Linked DNA regions of Homo sapiens: regions 2 and 3 are each linked to region 1. The links are contacts of gene promoters, found by promoter capture Hi-C in human tissues and cell types (Jung and others, 2019). All regions are on one chromosome and are shown on one strand. The core of a region is centred on a gene start or on the middle of the fragment in contact, and the rest is flanking DNA. Distances in the headings are between cores, read along the strand shown. Region 1 holds the start of GBP6 (guanylate binding protein family member 6). Region 2 has its middle 42 kb from the start of GBP6. Region 3 has its middle 44 kb from the start of GBP6.

Region 1 (3,672 bases), core at 715-3,214:
TTTGCCTCCTTGACTGCAATTGGAACCACCTGGAGGTGGGGCGAGGCTTTAAAAAAACACTCACACTCACCCTCAACTCTAGACTTACTAAATCAGAGTCTCTGGTGATGGATCAGAGCTCAAGTTTTTAAGGAGAACCTCAATTGATGTTTATGTGCAGCAAGTATTAAGAATCACTGGTTTAGTCTTATAACATCTAAAGGAGGCCTCCTACTAGACTCTTTACTTTAGACAAGCTCTGGTCTTTGACTTTTGGCCTCTTCATAAATGCCTTCCAAACTGAAGGTCACATTCCCTTGGTTGGCAAATGCTATTAGAAAAAAAACAGCTTCAATACTCCACTTAACTCTTTGGGCGTTCACCTTCCCTTGGAATTTGGTCTTTAAGATCATTCATGACAAATTAGTCAATTTTTAATATTGCTTTTGAAAATATTAAACATTTTTGAATCCAGAATTTTCCTTTTTTTTTGAGATGGAGTCTCGCTCTGTCGCCCAGGCTGGAGTGCAGTGGCACAATCTCGGCTCACTGCAAGCTCTGCCTCCCAGGTTCACACCATTCTCCTGCCTCAGTCTCCTGAGGAGCTGGGACTACAGGTGCCCGCCACCACACCCGGCTAATTTTTTTGTATTTCTAGTAGAGAGAGACAGGGTTTCCCCCTGTTAGCCAGGATGGTCTTGATCTCCTGACCTCGTGATCCGCCCGCCTCGGCCTCCCAAAGTGCTGGGATTACAGGAGTGAGCCACCGCACCTGGCCCAGAATTTTACATTTTTAACACAAGTCTTTGTCTGAATAGAGTATTCAGATTAGTCTACCACACTCCCCAAATCCTCAGCCTAAGTTATTGCCAAAACTCATGTCTGCTCATTCTGCCACTTGCTTCTGTTCTCAAATCCATTTAGCAGTGCAGCCATGGTAGACAGTCCCAGCATGCTGCTATGTCCTCTGTAGAGAGTCTTTCTCCTTTTCTCACTCAGATGTTTCTCCAAGCTGTGAAAGGGTGTCTATTTTGCCCAAGGGCAGCTTGTGAATTCAAAATAGTTAAAGTCCCTGGGGATAAGACTCAACCAATGGAAACTGTGGGTTGTTGGATAAATAGTCCACATCAAGGGTCCCAAACCCCCAGAGCATGGTCTGTTAGAAACTGGGCCACACAGGAGGTGAGTAGGGAGAGAGCACTAAGGCCTGAGACCTGCCTCCTGTCAGATCAGCAGCAGCATTAGATTCTCATAGGAGCTTGTACACTGTTATGCACTGCACATTCCACCTTCTATGTCCATGTATGCAGATTTTTTAGCTTCCACTTATGAGTAAGAATGTGGTATTTGACTTTCGGTTTCTGAGTTGTTTCACCTAAGATAATGAACTCCAGTTCCATCCATGTTGCTGTAAAAGACATGGTTCATTCTTTTTTTAAACCAGTAATATCTTTAGCTCTCTCTCTTTCTCTCTCTCTCTTCTGTGTGTGTGTGTGCATGTGTGAACACATTTAAAATATCAAAAGTTCTTCACTAACAAAAGACCCCAGAACTCAAGAATTCCCACTAAGAGAAAAATGCTTAAAATATTCTTGGTTTCTAAGGCTTTGCTTATGTGACTACTGTAGATTTCCTGTTTTTCTTGTGTGCCTAGGAAACTAAAGCCACCTGGGAACGGTATCAAGAAGAAAGCCTGTGAAGCCTTCTAAGATGGGAAAGACAAAAGAAAGCTGGCAGGATTGTGCTTGCTAAGGTGTGACTGTGCAGTATCTGTGGCTTTTTCTGACCTCCTCCCACCCCTGCACCCAACACCCATCCTCAAACTCACATCGGATGATTCAGGCATGGCTCTGCTAACACTTTATTAAAAGCATGGATTAATTTTACTTCCAAGTTTATTTTTACTGCACCATCCCATTTGTGGAAACAACTAGCTTACTCAGCTTTTTTTTCCTTTTATAAAGGAAAGAACAGAAAAGTAAAAGGAGGAAAGAAAACAAGAGGTGAGTGAGGCAACTGAAAACTGTTCTTGGACCTGCGGTGCTATAGAGCAGGTATGTTCACTTTCTTTTAAATGCAACTTAGTTCCTAACTCAAGACTTGGTTTCTGATTCAGAGTGGTAACTGAGGAATGGGCAGGAAGGGCAGGGTGCCTGCTGCCTGGCCTGCAGGAGTCTGTGGCTGGCTTTAGTTCTGGGGAAGCTCAGCTTCTCCACTTGAACCAGTGACAGCCGGGCACGCCGCGTCCCCCTGGATGTGCTGTTCCCTGATCATCAACTCAGGACAGCAGTGAGTGGCCTGGAATGAGCCCTGGTGGGCGCCTGCCTGGCTATCTCTCTCAGGTCCTGCGGCAAGCCCCAGAATGCAGAGAACAAGGAGCTTCCAGGCAATTATACCGGAAGGGAGAGTTTCTTGTCTATCTTTCTAGTGGTCACACTTAGGAAAGCTTCAGAATAAGAGCTCTATAAATCTCTATGTAGAAATAAACTTAGGCCCCACATCACTGGTCTTTATTACTTAAAAATAATTATATAGTCCAAACTCTGTGTGTGCGTGTGTGTGTGTGTGTGTGTATGTGTGTGTGGGGAGGGGGTGGGGGAGGAGGGGGGTGTTAGTTTCCCATAGGAACATCAGAGTCTCTTGTAGCTCTTGCTAAACAGATGGATACTTAGGCCTGGGAATCTGGGTTTGAACAATCCTCTCAGTTGATTCTTTAAAAAAAAAAAAGATGAAGAATAGACACTATGTTTAAAATAAAAAAGATTTTTTTAAAAACCACCATGTCCCATGGTGGTTTGCTGCACCTATCAATCCGTCATCTAGGTTTTAAGCCCCGCATGCATTAGGTATTTGTCCTAATGCTCTCCCTCCCCTTGCCCTCCACCCACTGACAGGCCCCAGTGTGTGAGTTTCCCACCCCCACCCCCAGCGCCAACCCCCCGCCGCCCGTGTCCACATGTTCTCATTGTTCAACTCCCACTTACCAGTTAGAACACGCAGTTTTTGGTTTTCTGTTCCTGTGTTAGTTTGCTGAGAATGGGATCTAATTAAAGAGCTTCTGCACAGCAAAAGAAACTATCATCAGAGTGATCAGGTGATTCTTATGTACATCAGAGTGTGAAAACCAGTCCTGAATAGGATTGAACAGCTGTATTTCATTTAGTAGAAGTTAAAAGGTCTGTGGTTCCCACACAGCTAAGAAACCAGAGACCTGGTTTATATAAAGTTGTTTGCAGGAGCAGCCACATCTTCCTAGAGCTGCCTTTATTGTTCACTTTAAAGAAGGGACTGTACAGTTGCAGTCACTGTAATGTGATGAACACGTTACACATCACATTACAATGCATTTCACTGTGGAAATCAGGACCTCGTGTTTGATCTCCATTTTCCTTACTCCCCTCAGTGAAGAATCAGACAAGAGCAGGTTGTACAGCAACAGCGTGCTTGAACTTTACAGTTTTGCTTCCGTGAAAAATTTATTTGTAGTTTTTGTTTCTTAGTAACTTATAGTTTGTATATTTTGTTGAAATATATAATCTAATGGACCAATTGTTATTGTAATTATTGTAGTAACCTCCATTTAATTCAACATTTACTGAAATCCTATTGTGTGGTGCATGCTATGCAAAGATATAAACTTATAATGTCTCGTTTTATTATCAAAACACCCTCCAGGTTGGATGTATGATTTAA
Region 2 (3,672 bases), core at 851-3,350, 43 kb after region 1:
TTTTGCTTTCTGTTAGTTTTTCTTCTCAAAGTCAGGCCTCTCTTCTGCAGGTCTGTTGCAGTTTGCTGGAGGTCCACTTCAGACCCTGTTTGCTGGTATCGCCAGCAGAGGCTGCAGAACAGCAAGGATTGCTGCCTGCTCCTTCCTCCAAAAGCTGTGTCCCAGGGGGGGCACTGGCTTGATGCCAGCTGGAACTCTCCAGTATGAGATCTCTGTCAACCCCTGTTGGGAGGTCTCTCCCAGTCAGGGACCTACTTGAGGAGGCAGTCTGTCCTTTAGCAGAGCTCAAGCATTGTGCTGGGAGAATCCTCCTCATCAGGATCAACTGCTCTCTTCAGAGCTGGTAGGCAGTAACATTTAAATCTGCTGAAGCTGTGCCCACAGCCACCCCTTCCCTCAGGTCTCTGTCCCAGGGGGATGGGAGTTTTATCTATAAGCCCCTGACTGGGGCTGCTGCCTTTCCTTCAGAGATGCTCTGCCCAGTGAGGAGGAATCTAGAGAGGCAGTCTGGCCACAGCTGCTTTGCAGTGCTCTGTTGAGTTCCACCCAGTCCAAACTTCCCAGCCTCCTTAGCACTGTCAGGAGAAAACCGCCTACTCAAACCTCAGTAATGGTGGACGACCCTCCCCCAACCAGGTTCAATTGTCCCAGGTCAACTTCAGACTGCTGTGCTGGCAGTGAGAATTTCAAGCCAGTGTTTCTTAGCTTGCTGGGCTCCGTAGGAGTGGGACCCGCTGAGCAAGACAACTTGGCTCCCTGGCTTCAGCCCCCTTTCCATGAGAATGAATGATTCTGTCTTGCTGGGATTCCACCACTAGGGGAAAAAAAAAAATTCCTGCAGCCAGCTCGGTGTCTTCTCAAACAGCTGCCCAGTTTTGTGCTTGAAACCCCAGGGTCCTGGTGGTATAGGCACGAGGGAATATCCTGGTCTGCAGATTGCAAAAACCACACGGAAAAGCGTAGTATCTGGGTGGGTAGCACAGTCCCTCAGGGCTCCCCTTGGCTGGGGGAGGGAGGTCCCTGGCTCCTTGCACTTCGCAGGTGAGTCAATGCCCCACCCTGCTTCTGCTCGCTCTCTGTGAGCTGCACCACTGCCTAACCAGTCTCAATGAGATGAACAGGGTACCTCAGTCGGAAATGCAGAAGACTACACCCACTGCCTAACCAGTCCCAATGAGATGAACAGGGTACCTCAGTTGGAAACACAGAAATCACTTGCCTTCTGCATTGGTCTCACTGGTAGCTGCAGACCGGAGCTATTCCTATTCAGCCATCGTGCCAGATCTAAGACATGTTAAGCATTTTTTTATATACTTGTTAGCCAGTTGTATCTCTTCTTTTGAGAAATGTCTATTCAGATATTTTGCCCATTTTTTAATAAGAGTATTTGTTTGTTTGTTTTTGAGTTGAGACTCTTGTATATTCTGAACATTAGTCCTTTGTAAGTTGAATAGCTTGCAAATACATTATCCCATTACGCAGGATGACTCTCCATTCTGTTGGTTTTTTTCCTTTGCTGCACAAAAGCCTTTTAATTTAACAGTCTCATTTGTCTATTTTTGCTTTTGTTGAGTGTGCTATTGAAGTTTTACCCATCAAATTGTTGCCTGGACAGATGTCTGCAAGTGTTTTCCCTATGTTTTCCTCCAGTAGTTTTATTGTTTGGGGTCTTACATTTAAATACTTAATCCATTCTGAATTGATATATGGCATATTAATATCCACGTTTCCCAGCACCAATTGTAAACATACATTCCCCAATGTATATTACTGGTCTCTGTGTCAAAAATGAGGCAACTTAAAATATGTGAATTTATTTCTGAATTCTCTATTCTGTTCCATTGGTCTATGTGTCTGTTTTTACTGTCAGGTCATTTTTTATAAAACTAAAACTCAACCCACTTCACATAAGTGACATGAAAGGAAATTCTTCATGGGTAAAAGTTTGAAGTCTTCCAATGTGCAATCTTGGGCTACATATTTCAGTGTTCAGTGCTCCACTCTTCCACTCCTCTCCAGGCCTTTGCTTTTAAGCTTTGAGTGCAAGTCATTCTTACCCTCTAGAGTAAGTCCAGTTAAGGGCAGTGGCTGTGTTTAATTCATCTTCATACACTTCTCAGCACCTAGTACAGTGCTGTGCATGCAGTATATTTGCTCTCTATACACACATGTACAGATGGTTGATTGTTTTTCTAGCTTGCAGGTCTTGCTTCCATTTGATATGAGACTCAGTAACCCCAGCTGAATCACTGAATCCCTCTTGCTATGAACTCTACAGCCGGCTGCATAGAGCTCTTTGTGTGAAAATAAGCTTATTATCAAAACATTCCACACCTGAAATTCAGTCTGTTCATTGGATGCTAATATCAAGACAATCTTTGAAATCACTAGGCATATACACATTAATTATTGCATCATGTAATAATACTAAATTGTGAATTAATTTTATCTGTGACTATCTACTAGAAGGATTCCATAGACTGCAAACCAAGTGAACTGAAAAGTGAGGAAATGATGCTTCCTCATCCCCACCATCTAAATGAAAAATTCCCTACTTATTTTTTTCCAGCTGTCTGACTTTTTATGTCAGACAATGTGTTAAATATGCCCTTTCCTTATTTACCGCACCTCTAAAAGAATAGGCAGCTCCATTGTGAGTGTGTCTATTATTTTAGGAAATTATAGCTGAAAATTAACATGATGCCTCCTCATTCTAGGATTCTCAAACTGACTCAATCCATGAGACATGTATCATTGTATTCAAAACCTAATGGGCATTTTGTTAGACAACAAATGGTCTCTAAGATTTCCAACAAAAAACTTTGAAGCTTCTGGTTGAGCAATCATTAAACCCTCCCACTGGCACACTCCAGTAATTTCATTTATGGTAGTGGACTTGAATGAAGTACTTTCAGTTTCATATTACTCTAAATCCATTACAAATATGCTTAACCTTTAAATATTTCATCACTGAAGAAATCCCAGCCCTACAACGTTGGAACAGTAAAATATTAGTCCAAGGATCCAGTGAGAGACACAGAAGTGCTAGAAGCCACTCCTCATGAACTAAGGAGAAAAAGAACAGGTAAGAACTTTTACTACTTCTCATTAAGCAGCTTTCTCTTTAGCTCCAAAGGATCTCAGCTCAGGGATATGGAACCCATAAGGTTGTGGCAGGGATGGGAAGGAATTTATAAAGGTCAGTTCATTTTCTTAAACATCGTCAGAACCAAATTAGGCTGCAGATGAGCCTGAAGTGGGACGCAGGTCAGATGAAATCCTGGTGTTATCAGGGACAGCATGGCCTTAAGTGACACTACAGTGTTTGTGTTGAATTAGGCACCAGTAGACAGGGGCTAAACTGAGAGTTTGAAATGCACTAGGATAGTCTTTCTCTTTGTTGTCATTCTCTGTGTTGACTGGAGACATGATTACATTTCCATTATCAGTGATGGAGCTTGCTGAATCCTGCTCCTATGCAGCTAAGAAATGGAAAGAGCTACAAATGGGTTCTTTTCATAAGGAAAGAACAGCAAATGAGAAGCAGAGTAATCAGCCCACTGACATGGTTAAAGACAAAGAAAAAACTGAAACTCAGCCTGAAAGATGAAGATTCATGAAAACAGTATACTTTTTATTACACTTGTGAACTTCGTTTCAGAATGGATTACT
Region 3 (3,672 bases), core at 345-2,844, 44 kb before region 1:
GACACATAATCATCAGATTCTCCAAGGTTGAAATGAAGGAAAAATGTTGAGGGCTGCTAGAGAGAAAGGTCAGGTTACCTACAAAAGGAAGCTCATCAGACTAATAGCAGATCTCTCTGCAGAAACCCTACAAGCCCGAAGACAGTGGGGGTCAATATTCAACATTCTTAAATAGAAGAATTTTCAACCCAGAATTTCATATCCAGCCAAACTAAGCTTCATAAGCAAAGGAGAAATAAAATTCTTTACAGACAAGCAAATGCTGAGGGATTTTGTCACCACCAGGCCTGCCTTACAAGAGCTCCTGAAGGAAGCACTAAATATGGAAAGGAAAAACTGATACCAGCCACACCAAAAACAGACCAAAATATAAAGACCAATGACACTAGGAAGAAACTGCATCAACAAATGTGCAAAATAACTAGCTAGCATCATGATGACAGGATCAAATTCACACATAACAATGTTAACCTTAAATGTAAATGGGCCAAATGACCCAATTAAAAGACACAGACTGACAAATTGAATAAAAAGTCAAGATCCATTGGTGTGCTGTATTCAGAAGACCCATCTCATGTGCAGTCACACATAGGCTCAAAATAAAGGAATGAAGGAATATTTACCAAGCAAATGGAAATAAAAGAAAAAAAAAGCAGGGGTTGCAATGACAGTCATGATGAATGATCTTTCAAATTTGATGTTGAATTTGCTTTGCTGGTATTTTGTTGAGGATATTTGTATCAATATTAACCAGAGATATTAGCCTGTTGTTTTCTTTTTTTGATGTTTCTTTGCTTTTGGCATCAGGGTAATACCGGCCTTGTAGAATAAGTTTCATAGTATTCCCTCTCCTTCTTTTTTGGGGGAATAGTTTGAGTTGGATTGGTATTCTTTTTTAAATGTCTGGTAGAGTTCAGCATTGAGACCATTGGGTCCTGGGCTTTTCTTTGCTGGGAGACTTTTTATTATGGCTTTGATGTCATTACTTTTTATTGCTCTATTTAGGCTTCAGATTTCTTAATGGTTCAATCTTGGTAGGTTGTGTATGTCTAGGAATTTATCCACTTCTTTTAGGTTTTCCAATTTGTGGACATACAGTTGTTCATAGTAGTCCAGTGATTCTTTACATTTCTGCAGTATAAGTTGTAATGTCTCCTTTTTCATCTCTGATTTTATTTATTTGGGTCTTCTGTCTTTATCAGTTAGTCTGGCTAAAAGTTTGCCAATTTTCATTATCTTTTCAAAAAACCAACTTTTCTTTTTGATGACATTTAGTATTGCTTTTCTCATTTCAATTTCTTTTTTTTTCCTGCTCAGATCATTATTATGTCTTTTCTTCTACTAATGTTAGGTTTGGTTTGCTCTTGCTTTTCTAGTTCCTTAAGATGCATCATTAGATTATTTGAAGTATTGCTCCCTCTTTGTTGTAGGTGCTTATTGCTATAAACTTTCCTCTTAGTACCACTTTTGCTTATCCCATAAGTTTTGGTATGTTTTCTTTCCATTTGCATTTGTTTCAGGAATTCTTAAATTTGATTCTTGTTTTTTGACCCACTGGTCATTCAGGAGCAAATTGATTAATTTCCAAATGTTTGTGTTCCTTTTAAGTTTTCTCATATGCTTGATTTCTAGTTTTATTCCATTGTGGTCAGAGAAGATACTTGATATGTGTCAAGTATCATATTTACCTTTTTTGTATTTTTCAGACTGATTTTGTGGCTTAAAGTATAGTCTATACTTGAGGATGATCTATTTCCTGAGCAGAAGAACGTGTATTTTTCAACCCTTGGATGAAATAATCTGTAAATATCTATTAGGTCTTTTGGTCTATAGTATAGATTAGGTCTGATATTTTCTTTGTAATTTTTGTTTGGCTGATCTGTCCAATGCTGAAGGTGAGGTGTTGAAATCTCCAGCTGTTATTATACTGTGGTCTGTCTCTCTCTTTTGAACTAATAATATTTGCTTTATATATCTAGATGCTCCAGTATTGGGTGCATATATATTTACAATGGTTATATCCTCTTGCTATATTAATCCCTTTTACTCGTTACATAGTGACATTCTTTGTCTTTTTTATAGTTTTTATCTTGAAATGCTTTTATCTGATATAAGTATAGCTACTCCTGCTCTTTTTTTGGTTTCCATTGGCATGGAATGTCTTTTTCCTTCTTCTTATTTTCAGTTTGTGTGTGTCTTTATAGGTGAAGTGTGTTTCTTGTAGGCAACAGATCACTGGATTCTGTTTTTTTAATCCATTCGGCCTCTCTGTGTCTTTTGATTGGAGAGTATAGTCCATTTGCATTCAATGTTATTGTTGCTAAATAACAACTTACTCCTGCCATTTGGTTTTGTTTTCTGGTTGTTTGTGGTCTTCTCTTTCTTCTCTTCTTCCTTCATGTCTTTCTTTTTGTGAAAGTGATTTTCTTGTTGGTATGTTTTAAGTTCTTGCTCTATACATTTTTTGTGTATCTGTTGTAGGTTTTTTGATTTGTGGTTACCACAAGGCTTGCAACTAATATCTTGTAACTCATTATTTTACACTGATGACAGTTAAACTCTAATTGCTAAAATCTACAAAAAAAAACTGACAAGCAAAGAGAAAACTAATAACATTCAACACTTTAACTTCATCCTCTCTGCTTTTCAACTATTCGTTGTTTCTATTTATATCTTATTATACTATGTCTTAAAAAGTTGTTGTGGTTATTATTTTCGATAAATTTGTCTTTTACTCTTCCTATGCAAGGTATGAGTAGTTTACATACCACAATTACAGTGTCATATTATTTTATATTTGTCGGTATACTCACTGTTACCAGTGAATTTTATGTACTCAGATGATTTTTTTTTTGCTCATTAACATGCTTTCCTTTCAGATTGAAGTACTCTCTTTAGCATTTCTTTTAGGACAGGTCTTATGTTGATGAACTACCTCAGCTTTTGTTTGCTGGAAAAGTCTTTACTTTTCCTCTATGTTTGAAGGATATTTTCACTGGTATGATATTCTAGGATAAAAGATTTTTTTTTAGCAGTTTAAATATATTATACCACTTACTCCTGGCTAGTAAGCTTTCCACTGAGTAATATGTGCTAGACATATTGAAGCTCCTTTATATGTTTTTTTTTTTCTTTTCTCTTTTTGCTTTTAGTATGCCTTATTTATCCTTGACCTTTGGGAGTTTGATTATTAAACATATTGAGGTAGTCTTATTTGTGTTAAATCTGCCTGGTCTCCTATAATCTTCTTGTTCTTGAATATTGTTATCTTTCCCTAGGTTTGGTAATGTCTATTTTTATCCCTATGAATAAGATTTCTAACTCAGCCTCTCTTTACCTCCTCATTAAGGCCAATAACATTTAGATTTGCCTTTTTGAGGCTGTTTTCTAGATCCTATAGAGATGCTTCCTTTTTTTATTCTTTTAACTTCTATCACTGTGTATTTTCAAATAGCCTGTCTTCAAGATCACTAATTTTTTCTTCTCCTGGATTGCTGTTGTGAGATTCTGATATATTCTTTAGTTTTAGTTTGTCAATTGAATTTCTTCAGCTCCAGCATTTCTGCTTAATTCTTTTAAATTATTTCAATCACTTTGTTAAATGTTTCCGATGGGATTCTGAATTCCTTCTCTGTGTTACCTTGGATTTTATTGAGCTTCCTCAACACAGCA

Evidence for each region. Contacts are between HindIII fragments. The study calls those that stand out against the background at their distance.
Region 2: a fragment that was not itself captured here is called in contact with the fragment with the promoter of GBP6 in region 1 in 1 of the 25 tissues and cell types used here (dorsolateral prefrontal cortex).
Region 3: a fragment that was not itself captured here is called in contact with the fragment with the promoter of GBP6 in region 1 in 4 of the 25 tissues and cell types used here (H1 embryonic stem cells, hippocampus, liver and 1 more).

What each region holds. Positions count from the first base shown.
Region 1 is chr1:89,362,095-89,365,766 of GRCh38, forward strand. GBP6 (guanylate binding protein family member 6) reads left to right here and starts at 1,965. Exons shown (of 11, transcript NM_198460.3): 1 at 1,965-2,033. The HindIII fragment of the contact is 7,719 bases long and covers 1-3,672 here.
Region 2 is chr1:89,404,674-89,408,345 of GRCh38, forward strand. It overlaps the pseudogene GBP1P1. Among named protein-coding and RNA genes, the nearest start is that of GBP6, 42 kb to the left of the region's middle. The HindIII fragment of the contact is 3,111 bases long and covers 546-3,656 here.
Region 3 is chr1:89,318,293-89,321,964 of GRCh38, forward strand. No RefSeq gene overlaps it. Among named protein-coding and RNA genes, the nearest start is that of GBP6, 44 kb to the right of the region's middle. The HindIII fragment of the contact is 5,448 bases long and covers 1-3,672 here.